Regions from separate parts of the Homo sapiens genome. Here region 1 is linked to region 2. The links are contacts of gene promoters, found by promoter capture Hi-C in human tissues and cell types (Jung and others, 2019). All regions are on one chromosome and are shown on one strand. Each heading gives the region's core, a stretch centred on a gene start or on the middle of the fragment in contact. The rest is flanking DNA. Distances are from core to core; before and after follow the strand shown.

Region 1 (3,254 bases), core at 441-2,940, 450 kb before region 2:
ATCCAAGAGGACTGTCCTGTAGGGGGACCCAATTACTCATCTGTGAAGAAAGGACAGAGGAGGAAAAAGGAAAAAGAAGACATTTTTTTCAAAGGAGCCCCAGGACTCAGGGTGCATTCAAAAGAGGTTCACAATGAAGATGAATGGCTACTCATCTAGAAAGAGGGGAGCGAGGCGTTCCTGGTTCCATTTTCTTCCTAGTGAATACCGTGGATATGTGAGGGAGAGAAAGTGAGGCATCCCTCTTTCTTTCGTCTGAGTATCCCTGAGGCCCAGCAACTGTGACAGGGTGCCACCATGGGCGTCAAAGTGGCTTTCACCCATGTAAACATGGGTGCCTAGGGAGTGGGATTATCTGCTGTTACCCACGTACACCCTGTCTCCCCTGCTGTTAGTAGCCTTCGAGCTCCAAAACTTGGAATTGAGTTTGGGACAAAAATGTGTCTCGGGGGTTGCATGGACTCCTTATCATAAGCCAAATGCTAAGGAGAAGCTGTGGAATTGAGTCCTCCAACAAGGGAGAGAAAAGGGTGTCCTGGCCTAGTAAAATGTCCTCTAAAAGGGGGAGAAAAAAAAGCCTCTTGCATAAAACTTAACTCCTGACCTGGTGGAGAAAAGAAAAAAAAAAAAACTTAAAGGCAGGGCTGTCTTAACTGAGACAGGATGGAGAAAAACAAAAAAAACTTAAATGCAAAGCTGTATTCACTGCTGACAGGGTGGAGGAAAGAAAAAGGTGCCTGAGCAAGAAACCTCTTATTCTTATGCAAATGGATTTCTCCAACAGGAGAGAAACTTTTTCTTTTATGAGATGGAGTCTCTTTCTGTCACCCAGGCTGGAGTGCAGTGACGAACAGGGAGAGAACCTTTTTTGTTTTGTTTTGTTTTGTTTTGTTTTGTTTTGTTTTTGTTTGTTTTGTTTGAGACGGAGTCTCACTCTGTCTCCCAGGCTGGAGCGCAGTGGCGCCATCTCGGCTCATTGCAAGCTCCGCCTCCCTGGTTCACGCCATTCTCCTGCCTCAGCCTCCCGAGTAGCTGGGAGTACAGGCGCCCACCACCACGCCCAGCTAATTTTTTGTATTTTTAGTAGAGACGGGGTTTCACCATGTTAGCCAAGATGGTCTTGATCTCCTGACCTCGTGATCCGCCTGCCTTGGCCTCCCAAAGTGCTGGGATTACAGGCATGAGCCACCGCGCCCAGCAGGAAAGAAGCTTTCAATTGCTGTCGGACTGAGCTAGACCCCTCGGCCAGGGAATGAGGGGACTCCATGGAGGTGTCGCGAGGTATGCTGCTCAGCTGGACGTGCAGGGCCTCTGGCCCCTGAGACTGCCCTGGGGCCAGGGCAGCAGCTATGGCCATATGTGCACCTACAGCCATTGGGGTGGAGGTGGATGACTGCTATAGTAAAAGAAAAGATAGGTGCCATTACGGTCCCAAAAAAAAGAAGGAAAATGCCATAGAAAAGGCTGGTTTGGACCAAGGCTGACATTCCCAAACCCCGAGAGCGAAGAAGGGACCACAGTTTCCTCTACCCTCAGAAGAAGTCCAAGGACAAGAAGGCTCAGAAACAAAAGGAAAAGAGATTTTTTGGTCCACATTTTACTCACCCCTCCTCATATGCCCGTATGGACCACCAAAATGATGCAAGATTTTTTGCTCCTTCAGCTAAAAATCTGGGTTCTTGTCTCACAACCAAGAAAAATTAGGCATACAGACACATGGAAGGGTGAGGAGGACAGATTTATTAGGCAAAAAGAATGCTCTCAGAAAAGAAAGAGGGGGTCCTGCCAACATGCACCCACATCACAGATTGAATACCAGGCCACCACACATGAGCTGAAGAGGCCTGACTCCTCCCCCTGCATAAGGCATGAATTCCTGGTGGCTTTACCCCATTCTCCCAGTGCTCATGCAGACCCCCAGTCTGTTGCAGGCATGCCCAGGCAAAACCCTGTGCAGGTTCCCTTTTCTGCCTCCTGCATCTATCAATTACTGCTCAATGTTTGCCTTTTTTGAAGCCATTCGAACAGTTGTCTACATTTGATTGTCCAAAACTCAGTAATTGTCACGTGTAGGCTATGGTGTGTTTACACCTCTACTTGTTGTATTTCACGATGTACAGAGATACCTTTAGGTCAAACTTAAAATATGTAAGGAGGCAGCTTTAGACTAAACTTGATTTAATGTTATGCAGCACCCAGGTGTATTTTTGTGGAAGGGTCGTGTAGATAATCGACCATTCTACTGGGGAAGGAAGTTTTTTACTTTATTTCTAACAATACAGTATTACTTAACTCACCAAAACTCATTAGTGACCAGGCATAGTGGCTCACACCTGTAATTCCAGTTCTTTGGGAGGCTCAGGTGGGCAAATGGCTTGAGCTTAGGAATTCAAGATCAGCTTGGGCAACATGGTGAAACCCTGTCTGTACAAAAAAAAAAAAAAATAGCTGGGCATGGTGGCATATACCTGTAGTCCCAGCTATCTGGGAGGCTGCAGTTGGAGGATCACTTGAGCCTGGGAGCCGGAGGTTGCAGTGAGCTGAGGTCATGCCACTGCACTCCAGCCTGGGCGACAAGAGTGAGACTCTGTCTCAAAAAGAAAACAAAACAAACAAACAAAAAAAGCCTTAGTAGTAATTTATGTTTCTTAATTATATATTTTTTCATCTTTATTGCTTTGAATTTTGTTTTGATGTTAATGATAGGACCACTGCAACCTTTCTTTACATTTGCCTGATACATTGTTGCCTGTTCTTTCATTTTCACTTTTCTATGTGTGTGTGCGTGCATATACTTTTAGATGCATTTTATAATTGGCGTAACATTGGATTTTATTATTGACCCAATCTTTGTCTTAAAAAGTTTAACTGTTTTTACTGATATAATCAATTAATTATTTCTTAATTTTTCTACTTATTTTATTCATTTTATGTCATCAATTTTTTGTTTTACTGCTTTTCCCTTTATTTTCTACCTTTTGCTATATGGAATATTTTAGTGCCCTCTGTTGTTTTGGCAGTAATGCATTCTATTAATAATTAGCTTTAATCTTTTCAAAGGTGTTCTTTAAATTATGATTTTTAAAATATCAACATCAAAGTTGTAATAGTCCCTTTTTATCACTTCCTAATCAATATAAGGAATTGAAGAGACTAGGCCTATAAGTGGACCAGAGACCTAGTCGTATTAGGTATCCTTACCTCCCAGAGATAGAAACGACTGACCTTTGACTCAAACTGGCCTGCTGTATTTT
Region 2 (3,506 bases), core at 767-3,266:
CTACCCGCCTCGGCCTCCCTAAGTGCTGGGATTACAGGTGTGAGCCACCGCGCCCAGCCTAGGTTAAATAACTTCTAAGGACACAACTAGTAAGCTGCAGCATTAAGATACTAATTCAAACGTATGTCATGCACCCCCTTTATTTTTCATTCTCATACTATCTTTTCTTCACCCTGCCACCTCTGCCCTACCATGTTCTGTCCTGCCCCCACATTTTTTATTTATTCATAGTCTACCCACTACTGCTAGTTCAAATTTCACATATTCAATGAAATCTTCCTTGATTACTCTTATTCATGTTAATTTCTCTTTTTTTTCCAGAAGGCTCCTGAGATAGCTCTCACGGTAAATGGGGGAGGTTATGACATGGGGCATGTGGCCTTGGAGAATAGCCTATTCAAGTCCTAACTGCTTTCACACTCAATATATATTCAGACTCTCCATGCAAAGGCCAATTTGTTTTGCAGGTAATGGATAAAGAACGAATCTCACCCTCCAGTGGTCCCCAATTTCAGGTAGTGTTTTCTCATGATATGGATGTATCTCCTAAGGCTGATGTGGCTGATGATGGATGCAATTGTTTGCATTATTTGGCTGAGTTAAGTTTCCCAGGAGTAGCTGCAGAATGGAGCAGATTTACAAGGGTTATCCGGACAAACAGCATCCCCACTTTGGGACTAGCATTTAGGACACCAGAAGTCTTTCCTTTCCCTTCTCCACCCCTGCTTCTGTTGGAAGCAGACTTCAACCCCTCCCAAATCTGACTCCTTCAGGGTTCCTACATGAGAAGCAAAAGCTCATTTCCTATTCGCCATTTCCTCATGCTAACACATCCAAAACAGAGAATTTTTGTTGGCTCAGCTGCTTTAATTTTTTTGGTAGAGGAAAATATATCAACATTAGAAACCATTGATTTTTGTTGCTGATGGTCCTTAGAAAGTAATGCAAAAAGTTGCTTAGAGTTAAAAAAGTATGCCTGATAATCTGCTTTCATTTCCTCCTTTCTCAAGGTGATACAATTACAATCAGAACCTGCAAAAAATCCACAGTAAATTCTTCTCTAATGCCTTTTGCACTTAAAATCTTTAGTAGATACCTTAGCATCTTATTCAGTAATAACATGCCAACTTAGTCTGTAACTAAATATTTGGTCTTCAATTGTGACTACATAAAATGCTGAAATATCTATAACTTGGGAAGCAGCAGTTATAAATGCAGGTCTGGTATTAGACAACCTGTGTTCAAATCGCACCTCTATCGTTTATTAACTGTGTGACATTAAGTTCCTTAACGTCTCTGATAGCCTCATTTTCCTCATCTTAAAATGGGATCCTATCATTTCATAAAGTTGTATTCTATATGAGTAATTAATAATGATAATAGTTCTTTGAAGGCCTACTACACTAGGAATTATGTTGAGCACTTCACACTCATTTTATCTAATTGTGAGAACAGGGCTTCGTACACTGTAGACAACCAAAACATACTGAATGATTGAGGCGGGGCTAATGAGGTCCGCAGCTGGCACGCCATTAGAGGAGTCGCGAGTGGAGCTCAGTCATGTCTGCCCACAAAGCGCCTGCGCTTGACCTCTACGTTATATTTACTTTGGCAATGTACAAAGTGGTGAGGACAGTCCTAGCCCGGAGGGCCCCTAACACATTGTCGTCTTCTTATCCTCGGCCCTCTGCGTTAGAGAGGGCTGCCCCGAATCGGCTTTGAACGCTGACTCGCCCTTTTCCAGTCGGCCCTTGAGCCCACTAGTCAGGGCTACAGCGTTTTCCTAACCGAGGTTCAGAGGTGAGATGGAAAATGTACCCGTCTTTATTCTGTTCTCTCCCCTGCAATGACAGGGTGAATGGCGGTGGGGTTGGGGGCACGTCTCCAGAGTCCCAGTCCGCTCGGGACCCGCGGACCGCCCGGAGGCGACAACGGCCCTGAAATTGGGGGGAGCTTGTTTCCAGCCGGACTGTGTCCCTGGGCGCGCCAGAGCGCCGCGCCTGCGCGCTCAGCCCGTTGCCGCGCCGGCCCTGCGGACGTGCGCGCGCTGCCTTCGCGGCACCTGGGCCTGAGGTGCGTGCCTCCCGGGCCCTCGCCAGCTCCAGATGCGTGAGGAGGACTTCAGAAACCCGACTGAGAAGTGGAGCGACCCCCAGGGAGGGTCGGACCTGCCTCAATACCGCCAAGGTGCCTGGGGACCCAAGAACGGGGGCTCCACAACCTCAGTTCCTGAGCTCCTTTTGCTTTCTCACTTCCCCACCTATTGAGTGCGTCTCACGCGGAGCAGAAATTTGAGAGGAAGGCGTAGAGGGATTTTTTTTTGTTGTTGCTGTGGGTTGTATCACATGTGGCGTTTTCATCCTGGCTGCAGCCAAAGCAGTTTTTACCCTTACCCTTCCTTTCCTGGCGTGGGATTTTGTGGTTTCTGGACTCGGCTCGACCATTACGTGCTTATTATTGGTTGTGGGCCTTTAGAACGAGGACTGTGTGTCAGTGTCCTTTGTCCAGTGTAGTCCACTGGGAGGGAGAGGTGAGGGTTCAAGGCCAAGAGAATGGGCCCGGGGCGAGTGGGGCAGAAGCAGCCGCCGGAGATTATTCCCCAACTGAAAGTTGTGTGTGTTTCTCTTAGGTCTTTCATTTCTTGTTCGCTTACTTTCGTGAAATCCTCACATCGTTTTAATGGTACTAGTCAAGACAAGAAAATCAACAGGCTTTCAGCCTTGAGGCAACATTGGATATTATTGAGGTCAGTTTTTACAGTTTTTACAGTCTTCACGTAGAGTATCTTGTTCTTGTCAGGATAAATTCTGGATTGAACCACTGAGCAGATCTACTATTCTTTTATTTCAGTTTAAGATAAGAAAAATTACAGTCTTTTTTATTTTTATGTTATCAACAAAAATCGGTTGAAATGGGATTTGGAGCTCCATGAGTGCGTGAGGTGAGGATCCCTAACCTGACTCTCATAAACAGGAGATAGGATCACCACTTGCCACTAATGGTTCTAACAATCTAGGGCTCCCAGTAAGTGCTTTTCCACGTGGTGGGAGGCAAGTGACAACAGTTATCCAATCTTAGTGCTAACAATGGATGATTAACCGTAGCTCCTTTTTGGTACAGGAGCTGTAGGTAGCCAATCCCTGTTTTAATCAGAGGTAGTTGTGGTGTGTGATTTTTTTCTTTTAGGCGTGTTCCACGAAAGCATTTATTAAAGGGAAGAAGAAACATACAAAAGGAATTGAATCTGGCTTTATACCAAAATCCTGTGTGATCATTCAGTCCTGACATTGGACAATTACCAGGCTTTGCCTGACTGGCCTCAAGGGCCAAGCTGTCCTCCCACACCATACTCGATATGGGCCGGTGCATTGCAGTTTTCTGGAGGGGGTTGCAGTCAAGGACTTGCCCTGCCCCTCCTGCTAGATATGCAAATCCCATAACTTCTTTCCTAGCCTGGGTACCTCCATTTGGAGGCCCTCCTAGGAAGGACCGTGGCTAAGACACTT

Evidence for each region. The method cuts DNA at HindIII sites, captures the fragments that hold promoters and counts their contacts. A contact is called where the count stands out against the background at its distance.
Region 1: a fragment that was not itself captured here is called in contact with the fragment with the promoter of ZNF770 in region 2 in 1 of the 25 tissues and cell types used here (H1 embryonic stem cells).

What each region holds. Positions count from the first base shown.
Region 1 is chr15:35,434,131-35,437,384 of GRCh38, reverse strand. All of the region lies in intron 5 of DPH6 (diphthamine biosynthesis 6), which reads left to right. It overlaps LOC124903464 (a long non-coding RNA gene), which reads left to right and starts at 1,135. Exons shown (of 2, transcript XR_007064580.1): 1 at 1,135-3,254. The HindIII fragment of the contact is 4,033 bases long and covers 1-3,254 here.
Region 2 is chr15:34,986,797-34,990,302 of GRCh38, reverse strand. ZNF770 (zinc finger protein 770) reads left to right here and starts at 2,016. Exons shown (of 3, transcript NM_014106.4): 1 at 2,016-2,187; 2 at 2,630-2,746. It overlaps LOC105370764 (a long non-coding RNA gene), which reads right to left and starts at 1,945. Exons shown (of 5, transcript NR_188212.1): 1 at 1,819-1,945; 2 at 493-618. RefSeq lists enhancers at 1,832-1,921, 3,328-3,377, 3,458-3,506. The HindIII fragment of the contact is 19,041 bases long and covers 1-3,506 here.